Regions from separate parts of the Homo sapiens genome. Here region 2 is linked to region 1. The links are contacts of gene promoters, found by promoter capture Hi-C in blood cells and fetal thymus (Javierre and others, 2016). All regions are on one chromosome and are shown on one strand. Each heading gives the region's core, a stretch centred on a gene start or on the middle of the fragment in contact. The rest is flanking DNA. Distances are from core to core; before and after follow the strand shown.

Evidence for each region. Contacts are between HindIII fragments. The CHiCAGO score rates a contact against its expected background, and 5 or more counts as called.
Region 2: a contact is called between a fragment that was not itself captured here and the fragment with the promoter of ZDHHC1 in region 1, in 2 of 17 cell types (endothelial precursors and erythroblasts). The highest score is 5.3, in endothelial precursors.

What each region holds. Positions count from the first base shown.
Region 1 is chr16:67,412,496-67,419,516 of GRCh38, forward strand. ZDHHC1 (zDHHC palmitoyltransferase 1) reads right to left here and starts at 3,982. Exons shown (of 12, transcript NM_001323627.2): 1 at 3,676-3,982. It overlaps LOC124903702 (a long non-coding RNA gene), which reads left to right and starts at 3,408. Exons shown (of 2, transcript XR_007065093.1): 1 at 3,408-3,648. RefSeq lists a silencer at 3,649-4,038 and an enhancer at 3,871-4,528. The HindIII fragment of the contact is 9,596 bases long and covers 1,488-7,021 here.
Region 2 is chr16:67,213,280-67,220,300 of GRCh38, forward strand. It overlaps the pseudogene FBXL9P. Among named protein-coding and RNA genes, the nearest start is that of TMEM208, 10 kb to the right of the region's middle. The HindIII fragment of the contact is 798 bases long and covers 3,978-4,775 here.

The DNA.
Region 1 (7,021 bases), core at 2,732-5,231:
GAAATGTTTTCTCACTCTTGAAAGCAATTCTAAGACGCTTGGCTGCAGAGCTATGAGGAAAAGCCACAGAACTTCCTATGAACTGTTAGGGATCTTGTCAAAGCTGGAATCACACAACCAGACAGCACAACAGAGGAGCTGCTAGGCAGGACCTGCTTCATCCTTGGCCACAGCCAACTCAGCTACCTGAGACTCCCAGAACCCGAAGGGAAAGTGCACTCCACAGGAAACTTTTGTTCCCATGCATCTTGTCCTTTTGCTAGAGGACTTGTGGTTTCCATGTGAGAGATTTTCTTCTCTTTTCTTTCACTTTTTTTTTTTTAAGACGGAGTTTCACTCTTGTTGCTCAGGCTGGAGTGCAGTGGTGCGATCTTGGCTCACTGCAGCCTCTGCCTCCTGGGTTCAAGTGATTCTCCTGCCTCAGCCTCCCGAGTAGCTGGGATTACAGGTGCCCGCCGCCACGCCCGGCTACTTTTTGAATTTTTTTAATAGAGACGGGGTTTCACCATGTTGGCCAGGCTGGTCTCGAACTCCTGACCTCAGGTGATCCACCCGCCTCGGCCTCCTAGCCACTGCACCCAGCCTATTTTTTTTTTTTTTAAGAGACAGGATCCTGCTTTGTTGCCTAAGCTGGAGTGCAGTGGTGCAATCATCGTTCACTGTAACCTCAAACTCATGGGTTTATGCAAGCCTCCCACCTTGGCCTCCCAAAGCGCTGGGATTACAGGTGTAAACAACCGTGCCCAGTCGGGAGATTTTCTATCTATGAGTATTCCTAAATGAACTTTCCGTTTCCCCCAGGATCTGCTTTTGAAATAATTTTCACTGAGATTTAACAGATGCCCAGTTGAACTACCTAAAGGGAAGCTAGAAAGAAAACACTTCACGGTACACAGATTTTTACACTGCAAAAAGTCATTTACAAAAGATTCTTTAGGGACAAGTACTTTGTTTATTAAAATTCCCCACAGGTGCCAGAGAAGTCTCTGGCCTTAAAATTCTGAGAAGCAGCTCTAGCTCAACTAACGGATGCGCATCACACAACTACCAAAAATTAAACTGGAACTTCAAGCTGTTCCCAAAGACCTCTCAAGTCACTGATCTCAGATGTGGCTGGGCCCTTGCTTTCTCTCTCATAAACAACAGGTGGAAGTCTGATGCTGGTTGGACCCAGTGGCTCATGCCTGTAATCCCAGAACTTTGGGAAGCCGAGGCGGGCAGATCACCTGAGGTCAGGAATTCGAGACCAGCCTGGCCAACATGGTGAAACCCGTCTCTACTAAAAATACAAAAATTAGCCAGGCATGGACGTGGGTGCCTGTAATCCCAGCTACTCTGGAGGCTGAGGCAGAAGAATCTCTTGAACCCAGGAGGTGGAGTTTGCAGTGAGCCGGGATCATGCCATTGCACTCCAGACTGGGCAACAGAGCGAGACTCCGTCTCAAAAAAAAAAAAAAAAAAAAAAAGTCTGATGCTATGGCAAGAAAAGCTTGAAACTCCAATTATTCCTGAGTTGACATGGTTTGCAAACATTTTCTGTGCCATTCTCCTCCTGAAGCAACCACTGCAAATTGTTTGGGATACAAATGAAGCCAAGGAAAGGGGACAAGTAGGAGGGAGTAACACAGAATAGAAACAAGGCCAGTGAAGAGAGGCCAAGGTTATTGACTTTAACCAGGAAATCAACTCATGACTGCAGGAGCCAGCCTTGGGGAACACCCACCACACAAGAGTCATTAAAAACAACGTTGTGACAGAACAAAGAAAGAAAAACAAAAACAAAACAAAACAATCTGGCTAATTAAGCACCACTGTTGCTTTTACTGCATCTCATGGTGATTATCTGTTTACAAACCCGTCTCCCACAGTGAACCACCAGTTCCACAAAAGCAGAGACCACCCCTCACCCGTGTCTGAACCCAGCTCTCTTTCAGTAAAGGAAGTCAAGCCACTTTTTTACCATCTCTGCTGTCATTACCCCAATCCAAACCTCCAGCATCGCTCTCCTACAGTGTTTGCATGATAATAACCAACACCAGCATTTAGAATGCACTTATTCTGTGCCAGGCACTGTTTCAGTGGAATTCACTCATTCAATCCTCATAGAGCTCTAAGGAAGGTCCTATCATTTCCAACTGTTCTTGTAGATCCCTGTAGTCACTGATTTCAGATGTGACTGGCCTCTCACTTCCTCATAAAAAACATACAGAACACCCACTCCCATCATGAGGACACTGAGGCTCAGAGACACTAAATGAGTTATTTTAGGAGGCACAGCTAGATTGGCAGAACTAGGATGGCCCTCAACTGACTTCCCGGTATGTCTGTCACAACCATGCTGCTCAGCAGCCAGAGTGAAGTGAGCTTTTCAAACGTGAAACTCATCCAAACTCTTCTTTGGGAGGCCAAGGTGGCTGGATCACCTGAGGTCAGGAGTTCAAGACCAGCCTGGCCAACATGTTGAAACCCCGTTTCTACTAAAAATACAAAAATTAGCTGGGTGTGGTGGCAGGCGCCTGTAATCCCAGACTTGGGGGGCTGAGGCAGGAGAATCGCTTGAACCCGGGAGGTGGAGGTTGCAGTGAGCCGAGATTGTGCCATTGCAGTCCAGCCTGGGTGACAGAGCGAGACTCCATCTGGAAAATAAAAATAAAAATAAACAAAAAATAAAAAACTCTTCTGCCGCTTGCAGTGGCTCACACCTGTAATCCCAGCACTTTGGGAGGCTGAGGCAAGAGGATCCCTTGAGACCAGGAGCTCGAGACCAGCCTGGGCAAAATAGTAAGACCTCATCTCTACCAAAACCTTAAAAAATTAGCTGAGCGTGGTGGCGGGTATCTGTAGTCTCAGCTACTTGGGAGGCTGAGGCGGGAGGATCGCTTGAGCCCGGGAGCCGGAGCCTGCGGTGACCCATGTTCACACCACAGCACTCCAGCCTGGGTGACAAAGGGAGACCTTGTCTCAAAAAAATAAAAAATTGGCTGGGAACGGTGGCTCACACCTGTAATCCCAACGCTTTCGGAGGCCGAGGCGGGTGGATCACCTGAGGTCAGGAGTTCGAGAACAGCCTGGCCAACATGGTGAAACCCCGTCCCTACTAAAAATATAAAACTTAGCCGGGCGTGGCGGCGGGCGCCTGTAATCCCAGCTACTCCAGAGGCTGAGGCAGCAGAATGGCTTGAACCCGGGAGGCGGAGGTTGCAATGACCCGAGTCGTGCCACTGCGCTCCATCCAGCCTGGGTGACAAGAGCGAAACTCCGTCTCAAAGAAAAAACTAAAACTCTTCCCATGGTTTCCTTTTAAAACAGACCCTCCATGACCAACCCCTCCATTTCAATACCAGAGAGCCTAACCCGACCTGAAATCACTTTAGTCATGTATGACATCCGCTTCCCAGCCCCCTTCCTTAATGCTCTGGGTTCTGGAGACAGACCACGTCTGTTGGGAGTCCTCTGTGCCCACGCCTGGCACAGAGCCTGGCAAAGAGTAAGCGCTCAAGGAAGATCTGTGAACTTGATGCATGCTAAAAGGAAGCCCCGCGCTCTGCCGGGGCCCTGGAACTCAGGCCACCGGCTCCAGGCGGAAGCGAGCCCAAAGCCGGCCAGGCGGCAGCATCCGCTACCCCGTGGCTCAAGCCAGGCTCCGAGGTGAGAAACCGGGCGGGGACTCCTCACCTGCGCGCCGCGGAGGCCGTGCCAGATGGGCCCTGCCAAAGTCAGCCAGAGGTTCGGGCCCCACGCCTGGCCTTCCACCCTCCCCGGGGCAGCCGCGCCTCAGACCCTCGCGGTAGGGACGGTCCCCGGGACTGGGCGGCAACGCGCCCGGGAGCGGGGCCCCATCCCGGACGGAGACTGGGCCGGTGAGTCCTCGAGCTCTGGCTCTGGCTCCGGCTCCGGCTCCGGCTCCGGCTCCGGCTCCGGCTCCAGCAGGCTGGAGGGGCGGCCAGGCCAGACCCAGACTGGCTGGGCCTCGTCCGGCGCTGGGCCCGTTCCCCTGACAACGGCGCGGGCTACGGCGCCCCACAGCGGCCAAACCGCGCTGCGTCACTCCGCGCCGGTCCCCCGGCCAGGGCGGGGCTTGCCAGGGACCCTCTTGGTGCCCCAGTCGGCCCATTCCCAGATTCTTCCTAACCTTTCGTCTAGAAAATCCGCTTTTCCCTACTCCCGAGTCACAGCTTGTCTCCCCGAAATCCTAACATCTCAAAAGCGCCCCCTTCCAGTTTCTATCCTGAGACCACCGCTCTCAAGAAGAGACCTCCCCCAACCCCAGTCAACCTGCACACTTCAATGAGCGTATGTGCTGGAACATCCATGATATCCCGACCCTTCCGGGAGCTTACAGGTTAAGAGGCAAACAGATCTAGACAAATAAATTACACCACTAAAAATGCAGGTACCCCAGAATATAAAGCGAGAAGCGTAAGAGCTTAAAATAAGCAGCACAAAATATCTCATTTATTTATTGCCTTTAAATCAAGCAAAAATCAAGCCCCAATCTTCCAGGCTGATGGGAAATTCAGTCTTTTTCTATTTTTTAAACTGGTCTCTGTTACCCAGGCTGGAGTGCAGTGGCACGATCACGGCTCTCTGCAGCCTCGAACTCCTGGGCTCAGGCGATCCTCCCGCCTCAGCCTCCAGAGTAGCTAGGACTACAGGCGAACACCACCACGCCCGACTAATTTTCGCATTTTTTTGTAGAGGCGTGGTTTTGCCATGTTGCCCAGGCTGGTTTCGAACTCCTGAACTCAAGCGACCCGCCCACCTCAGCCTCCAAAAGTGCTAGGATTACAGGCGTGAGCCCCTGCCCGGCCGGGAAATTCAGTCTCAGTCTCCACTGTACTCCTTTTAGCTAGGTAATTCCAAAGGACTCATGTTTTCCTATAGCAAAAAACAACAATCAAAAACAAATAAGCAAAAAACTCTCTGGTCAGGGTTTTGTCTGGTACTGAGGCCACAACCATTGCTCCAGTCCACAAAGATTTTCAGGTTTGGGCTCTATGAGGCCATCCCTGCCTGAGGCCCCTGCCTCTCCCTGGGGCTGCCAGGGACAGACACCTGCTTCCTCTGCTCCATGGCCTGCAGCCTCCCTTCCCTTTCTCTACCTGGGAGACTTCCCTGCTAACTTGGTTTCCCTAAAAGTCCCCTCTCCTCTTCTCCTTGTGGACACTCAGAATGGAATCTTCTATGAGCTCAGGCTTTCTCAAAAGACAGGAAGACACTTTGTCTTCTGCTATCTGTCCTGTGCGCATCTCCAAGGCAGATATGACAGATAGGGAAAGAAAACATCCTTATCTCTAAAATGTATAAGTCACAAGCATACTTATTGTATGTTTTATTAGGCAACATAACTACTCCTTCTCTGTCACATGACAGGTGTGTGGGTCCTTGTGCAAGTGACATAACCTATTACTTAAATTCTTGTTTTCAAGACTGATAAACTCAAACTCAATGTGAGATAAATATCAATGCTATTCTGGCTTCAGAGTACAAGCTGACTACTTAACTCTTATCTGGAATTGGAAAACTTCGGGTCAAACAGAGATCATGACCCAGAAATCAAGGTGAAGGATGAGGCTGGATGCAGTGGCTCACACCTGTAATCCCAGCACTTTAAGGAGGCTGAGGCAGGAAAATCACTTGAAGCCAGGAGTTTGAGACCAGCCTGGGATACATAGAGAGACTCCCATCTCTACAAAAGATGAAAAAAAATAGCTGGGCCTGGTGGCCTGTGCCTATAGTCCCAGCTACTCACGAGGCTGGGGCAGGAGAAAAGAATCACTTGAGTTCGGGAGTTCAAGATTGCAGTGAATTACGATCATGCCACTGCACTCCAGCCTGGGTGAAAGTAAGATCTTATCTCTCAGCTGGTCTCAGTGGCTCACACCTGTAATCCCAACACTTTGGGAGGCCAAGGCAGGTGGATCATGAGGTCAGGAGATCGAGACCATCCTGGCTAACACGGTGAAACCCCATCTCCACTAAAAGTACAAAGTAAGCCAGGCGTGATGGCATGTGCCTGTAGTCCCAGCTACTCGGGAGGCTGAGGCAAGAGAATGGCTTGAACCCAGGAGGCAGAGGTTGCAGTGACCCGAGATCGCACCACTCTACTCCAGCCTGAGTGACAGAGTGAGACTCTGTCACACACAAAAAAAATCTTATCTCTCTCTCTCTCTCTTTTTTTTTTTTTTTTGAGACGGAGTCTCGCTCTGTCTCCCAGGCTGGAGTGCAGTGGTGCGATCTCAGTTGACTGCAGCTTCCACCTCCCGGGTTCAGGCGATTCCCCTGCCTCAACCTCCCGAGTAGCTGGGATTACAGTTGCCTGCCACCATGGGATTGCAGGCATGAGCCACTGTGCCCGGTCAGATTTTATCTCTTTAAAAAATAATAATAAATAAATAAATATTTTAAAAAACAAGGTGGGACTGGGCATGGTGGCTCACACCTGTAATCTGAGCACTTTGGGAGGCCGAGGCAGGCAGATCACTAGAGGTCAGGAGTTTGAGACCAGCCTGGGCAACATGACGAAACCCTGTCTCTACCAAAAATACAAAAATTGGCCGGGCATGGTGGTCTGCGCCTGTAATCCCAGCTACTCGGGAGGCTGAGATGGGAGGATCGCTTGAACCCAGGAGGCAGAGGTTGCAGTGAGCCGAGATTGTGCCATTGCACTCCTTACAGGCGACAGAACAAGACTCTGTCTTTAAATAAATAAATAAATGCAAATACAAATAAAAATTAAAAAACAAAGTGAAAGATGAATCCATATATTCCCATAATAAGGGGAGGGACCCAAAAGACCCTGGATCCACTTGACTCAGGGGCTTCTCTCCTGGATGTCCCATTGGTGTCTGGGATGTAACACATCCCCACATGTCCTCTTTGTCCTTGCCACAAATCTGCTCCTCCCCTTGGGCCCTCTGAAGGGCACCACCATCTACCCAGTAAGCCCATCTGTACACTTAGGCATCTTCCCATGTCTCTCCTGCTAGTCCTTGCCCACCTAAACCAGATAGTGCCTGTG
Region 2 (7,021 bases), core at 3,127-5,626, 200 kb before region 1:
AGGGTGGAGAGGGCAATAAAACATCAGAGAGGAATGGAGGGCATACCTCCAGCCATTCCCAAGCCCTGCAAGCTGAACGACTCCATCCCATGCAGATCAGAGGAAACTGGCTGGGGCAGGTGGGGCAGAGCTGGCTGTGAGGCAGCACCTCCTCCCCCAAGTCACACATCACTGAGGAACCCCTGAAAGTCCTGCAGGCCCCAGCTCCAGTGGCACAGCACCTTCAGGGGCTCAGCCTGACTTCTTTCCTTCCCTTCATTCTGGAGCCTGGCTGGCCAGGAAGGGTCTCTTCTCTCCCACTGCCTCCCTATGAACCAGGTGGACAAAAGACCTTGGAAGGCTCTGGCAATGCCCCAGGGCCCAAGTCCAGGGCTGGCTCCTGGCAGCAAGGCCACTCGATAAAGAAGCAGAGCCTGGCTTAAAGGACTTCTAGCTCTGGGGGTACGGAAGAGGCTTGAGACCATGTCCAGGCCCCACCATTTTTGCAGGTGGGATGGGAGCAGCCTCTAAGCCACCTCCCAGGTGGCTCCTGAGGTCTGCTCCTGAGGTCACCTGCTCCTGAGGTCATATGGACTTAAAACTGCAGGAGTTGGCCAGGTGTGGTGGCTCATGCCTATAATCCCAGCACTTTGGGAGGCCAAGGCAGGCGGATCACGAGGTCAGGAGTTGGAGACCAGCCTGGCCAACATGGTGAAACCCTATCTCTACTAAAAATACAAAAATTAGCTGGGCGTGGTGGCAGGAGTTTGTAATTCCCAGCTACTTGGGAGGCTGAGGCAGGAAAATTACTTGAACCTGGGAGGCGGAGGTTGCAGTGAGCCGAGATCGCGCCACTGCACTCCAGCCTGAGCAACAGAGCGAGACTCCAGCTTAAATCAATAAATAAATAAATAACCTGCAGGAGCCCAGGAACAGCCTTTCAGGGATATTTCTCTGTGTGAGAGAACAGCAGCAGGCTGAAGCAGGCCTTCTGGGTTCTGGACTTTGGCCCTGGTATAGGACACCCCCTTCCTGGGCCCTGGGAAGATGCTTCTAGACCCACCCAAAGAGAACTGCAAGGCCACATGCTCTAGCTCTAGCTGCCCCATCTACAGAAGGAACACCTTGCCCCCTGGTCTCCTCCCTTCCCGATGCTGGCATCTTAAGAGTAACTGCTGGCCGGGCGTGGTGGTTCATGCCTGTAATCCCTGGACTTTGCCCGAAGGCGCGCAGGTCACTTAAGGTCAGGAGTTCAAGACCAGCCTGGCCAACGTGGTGAAACCCCATCTCTACTAAAAATACAAAAAAGCCGGGCATGGTGGCAGACACCTGTAATCCCAGCTACTCTGGGGGCTGAGGCAGGAGAATCTCTTGAACCTCAGAGGTAGAGGTTGCAGTGAGCCAAGATCCTGCCACTGCACTCCAGCCTGGGCAACAGCGCGAGACTCCATCTCAAAAAAAGGAAAAAAAAAGAGTAATCGCAATATCATTTGGGAACTGCTCTGAATCTGCTACAAGTAACGTATGTACCTTTTCTGTGGGAGACCAGGGTTTTGTTGTACCTAATGAAGCCCTGAACCGAGACTGCAGGCCTGTGTACAGACTTGGAAAGCCATGTGACAGAGAAAATGGCCCTTCGTCCTGCCTAATACAGGACTCCAAAGCTACCGTGCTTGTTCTCCAGGAGGCCGTTGGGAAATGTACGCCCTGGCACCCAGGGCATTGGTCTCTAGAGAGGAGTTAGACTAGTGGGTCATACAGAGGCTGCTCCAGGACTTCATCAATCCCTCAGGCAGGGAGGGCACAAAGAGCTCTCTTCAGCTATTGCTTCATGGGGACCAACCAGCAGAGACAACCAGGGCTCCCCCAGGAACGGACAGGGCCGGTACATATGGAGGGTGCTGCCTTTGCCGGCATCCTTATTTGAGAAAATTGGGATTAAGGGAATAGGAGGGACTGGTCAGGGAAAGTAAGTCCCCAAGACCAGCGTCCTAGCCCAGCTTGGTGAGTCACCAGCTCTAGCTGGGCCTCGGTAAGCCAGTGTCTTCCACAGCACCTAACTGGTACCTAACTGCTACTGCCTCAGTATCCACCTGCCCATGCCCGAGCCCTGGGAGATGGTTCCTGCCTGCAGGGTCCCGCAGGCGCTCTCTGGCACATGGTAGGGGTGATGCCAGGTACCTGTGGCCTGGCCTCCCAGTGCTCCCAGCCTAGGTGGGGCTGAGTTTCGCAGAGGCACCAAAGGGTCTTTGTCAACATTCCTTTTTTCTTTTTCTTGTTTTTGGTTATCCCAAGGCTCTGTCATCTGTCTCTGTCCGCATTCTATCTGGAGAGCATGGTTGGCTGGAGCAGCTCCCGCTCTAAAACACTCACTCTGGCTTCCTTCTCCTTCCTCCAGCCCTGCCCAACTTGGGCTCCTCTGACTGCCCCATCTTTGCTGGGTTCCATGAGGCTTTGCCCTGTGACAACCTCTCCTCGGGGTCCTTGTTGCCCTGCCTCAGTCGTGCTGCTGTGCCCATTCTCCTGGCCCGGCCAGGGCTGGCAAGACCAGCTGCCTCCTCTGAGTCTGTACCAGGGATACAGAACTCCGCCCAGGAAGTCATGGCCTCCTTGCTCGATTCCCACCCTGCCCCAAGACTTCTCTCCAAGCCCCTCCCTCTCCAGCTCCTGGCCCTACTGATACACCCTCCCTCACCCAGGATTCTCAGGGATGGCCATCAAGTGGGAAGTCCCTCCCTTTCCCCTGTTCATGTCCACCAGCTGCCTCCAGGCAGGGCCCATCTGAACCTTCCTCCTTCTCCTGCTCTTTTGCTTCCAGAAGACTTCTTCTCCTGGCCTCCTTCTCCTGCTGCACCTTCTCCTCTGAGAACCCTGATGTTTATGCCTTTCCACTGCTCCTTCTTCAGAGGCCACAAACACCCCAGAGTCTTAAACTGCAACTAAAAGCCTCCTTTCATCCCGCACCCCTTCCTCTTGCCTCTCTTCTCTCCCCTTCCTCTACAGCCACGCTTCTTGGAAGCACACAGGCACAGGCATGCCTGCTGTCCCGCCACTCGTTGCCCCTCGCCTCACCTGCTCACCCCTCCACCCTGGCCCCCACAGGATCACGCATTCCTGGCAACAACTCCCCTCCAGCAAGGTCACCAACATGTGGGGGCTTCACCTCAGACCTCCCACAAGGGTTCTCTCTGCCATGTCACCTGCTCTGCATGGCCAGCAGCCACTCCCCTTGATGCCATCTCCACTGGGGTTCTGCAACTCTGCCCCCCTGGCTTTCCTCCTACCTTCTAGCCTGCTCTTCTTCAGGCTCTTTTGGGGTCAACAAAGAACAGAGATCCAGTCCACAGATGAGTGGGTTCCCCATGGTTTGTTCCACCCAAGAACACACACACGTGTGCACGTGCACATATGCACACGATCTTTGTGCCCCTCCGAGTGTACCCTGGCCAACTGCATTTTGCCCCATGGGGCCATCATTCCAACCACTGTCTTTCCGATCCACATGATGTTCCTGAACGCCAGACCCCGGGAGCCAAGTGCCTGACTGGCCTCTCTCCAGAGGGCACGATGCAGCATACCCAAATCTGAACTCATCATCTCATCCTCCAACTCTGCTCCTTCTAAACTCTCCCCACCCTCTATTGAGTCACCCAAGTGGGAAATTTGGGAGTGATTCTAGAATCCTCCCTCACTCCCCACATCCACAATGACCCAAGCCCCTTCCACTTTTGTTTCCCTGATACGGTGCAATCTGTCCCTCTGCTCCAACCTCACTGCTTCTGCCCTAGTTGAAGTCCCCATACTGTATGCCAGCAGCCCGAGAGCTGCTTCCTCTAAGCTCAGACCACGCCAGCTTCCTCCTTATCAGGTCCTGGCCTCCAGTTCCTCTGGCTCCAATCCATCCTGGGTTTTGTCACCATGTGACCCTTCCAAAAGGCGATTCTGCCTGTGCTCTCCAGACCCTCTGCCAGTTCCGCACGCCTCCAGGACACAGGCTAAGCTTCCTAAGCCTGCATTCAAGCCCTTCTAGGACCCAGGCCTGCTGCTTCAGCCAAGCTCTTCCCAAGCCCGTTCCCCTTCCTCCTAGTCCTGGCTCTGGGGCTGCCACTTCTGACCATTGTCCTGTACCGCACGCCTCTGCTCAGCTGCTTTTTCTGTTCTGGGGGGGTCCCACCCCTCACTGGCTCCTATTGGTCTATTTGGCAAATGTTTATTCCTCTCTCGAGTCTCAGGCCAAGCACCTCCTTCTCCATGGAGTCTTTTCTGATCTTTTCTCTGCACCCATGATGTGCCTCACACAGACTTCAAATGCAGCACCCCAGCCTCTTTTTACTCATCTGTACTCACTACACACTCCCCAGCCCTGTGCCTTCCTCAGTTTTGCCTCGCTGGTGCCCAGCACACTGCCCGGCACAGCAGAAACATTTGAGTAAGGCTGCCCACACCCTCTCTATGTGTCTCTGGTAATTTTCCATCTTCCTCCTGTCCTGTGACTGCTCCAACCCTCTCTGCTGAAGCCCTGGCCTCTATGTCTCTTTTTACTCTCCTGAGACAACCTGGTCTCCAAATCCACTGAGTGAAGGGGCCGCTGAGGAAGGAGATGCCTCTGAGGAACTTCTCTGCAAATAGCTCCATGTTTCCACCCCCACCTCTCTGCTTCCTCAGGAAGAGGTGACATCCTTTTTTTCACCAAACTGATGCTGAAAAAACAAAAAAGAAAAACACACACATACACACACAAAAAAACAAAAAAAAAAAAGGGAGAGGTGATATCCTCTCCATCCTATCCCAGATCAAGCTTGGTATGTGGAAGCCTGTCCCTGCCACCATCTTCTACACCTGACCTCTCTCCTCCCCGAATCTTCACCCCTCCTCTAGTGACTCCCTGAAGCATTTATTTATTTATTTAATTTATTTATTTACTTTTTTTTTTTTTGAGACAGAGTCTCACTCTGTCACCCAGGCTGGAGTGCAGTGGCACGATCTCAGTTCACTGCAACCTCCACCTTCCAGGTTCAAGCGATTCTCTGCCTTAGCCTCCTGAGTAGCTGGGATTACAGGCACCTGCCACCATGCCCGGCTAATTTTTTGTATTTTTAGTAGAGACGGGGTTTCACCATCTTGGCCAGGATGGTCTTGAACTCCTGACCATGTGATCCACCCACCTTGGCCTCCCAAAGTGCTGGGATTATAGGTGTGAGCCACTGCACGCGGCCTCTTTTTTTTTTTTTTTCCTTTTTTTTTTGAGATGGAGTCTTGCCCAGACTGGCTGGAGTGCAGTGGTGCAATCTCGGCTCACTGCAAGCTCCGCTTCCTGGGTTCATGCCATTCTCCTGCCTCAGCCTCCTGAGTAGCTGGGACTACAGGCGCCCACCACCACGCCCAGCTAATTTTTTGTATTTTTTTTTTTTTTTTTAGTAGAGATGGGGTTTCACCGTGTTAGCCAGGATGGGTTTTTCGTTGTTTTTTTTTGAAATGGAGTCTTGCTCTGTTGCCCAGGCTGGAGTGCAGTGACATGATCTCAGCTCACTGCAAGCCCCACCTCCCAGGTTCAAGTGATTCTCCTGCCTCAGCCTCCCGAAGAGCTGTGATTACAGGCATTCGCCACCATGCCCAGCTAATTTTTGTATTTTTAGTAGAGATGGGGTTTCACCATGTTGGCCAGGGTGGTCTCGAACTCCTGACCTCAATTGATCTACCAGCATTGGCCTCCCAAAGTGCTGGGATTACAGGCTTGTGTCACTGCACCGGGCCACCCTGAAGCTTTATTTATTTATTCATTTATTTATAGACAGGGTCTTGCTCTGTCACCCAGGCTGGAGTGCAGTGGTGTGATCTCTGCTCACTGCAACCTCTGCTTCCCAGGTTCAAGAGATTCTTGTGCCTCAGCCTCCCGAGTAGCTGGGATTACAGGTGTGCACCACTGCACCTGGCTAATTTTTGTATTTTTAGTAGAGATGGGGTTTCAACTTGTTGGCCAGACTGGTCTTGAACTCCTGGCCTCAAGTGATCCACCAGCCTCAGCCTCCCAAAGTGCTGGGATTACAGGTGTGAGCCACCGTGCCCAGTCTCCTGATGCATTCAAACACATTTCAGATTTCTCCAGAAGAGAATCCCTTTGTCTTTGTCAAACCCATCTCAACTTCTCATTTCTGCCCTATTTCTTTCTCTCTCTCTCTCTCTTTTTTTTTTTTTTTTGAGACGGAGTCTCTCTCTGTTGCCCAGGCTGGAGTGAAGTAGAGCAATCTCGGTTCACTGCAACCTCCACCCCTGGGTTCAAGTGATTCTCCTGCCTCAGCCTCCAGAGTAGCTGGGATTATAGGAACCCACCACCATGCCTGGCTAATTTTTGTATTTTAGTAGAGGGGGTTTCGCCGTGTTGGCCAGGCTGGTCTCAAACTCCTGACCTCAGGTGATCCACTCGTCTCGGCCTCCCAAAGTTCTAGGATTACAGGCATGAGCCACTGTGCCTGACTTGCCCTATTTATTTCCTTCTTTCTGTAGAGAAATTTCTTTTTTTTTTGTTTTTTTTTTTTTTTGAGATGGAGTTTTGCTCCAGCCCAGGCTGGAGTGCAATGGCACGATCTGGGCTCACTGCAACCTCCGCCTCCTGGGTTCTAGCGATTCTCCTGCCTCAGCCTCCCGAGTAGTTGGGATTACAGGCATGCGCCACCACACCCAGCTAATTTTTGTATTTTTAGTAGAGACAGGGTTTCACCATGCTGGTCAGGCTGGTCTCAAACTCCCAACCTTAGATGATCCGCCCACCTCGGCCTCCCAAAGCGCTGGGATTACAGGTGTGAGCCACTACGCCCGGCCAAGAAATTTCTTGCCAGCGAGGTCACGCTCTACACTTCCTACTTCTCTCATTCACTCCTCAATCCACCTGGCTTATTTTTCCAGATGCCAAATATCACTGAAGCCATTGGTGGCCTCCTTGGATAACATATCTCATGGACAATATTTGTTCTTCATTTTGCTGGGCTTTTTGTGGGATCTGACATTGTTAATCATCCATTCAATCCTTTATTTATGTATTTTT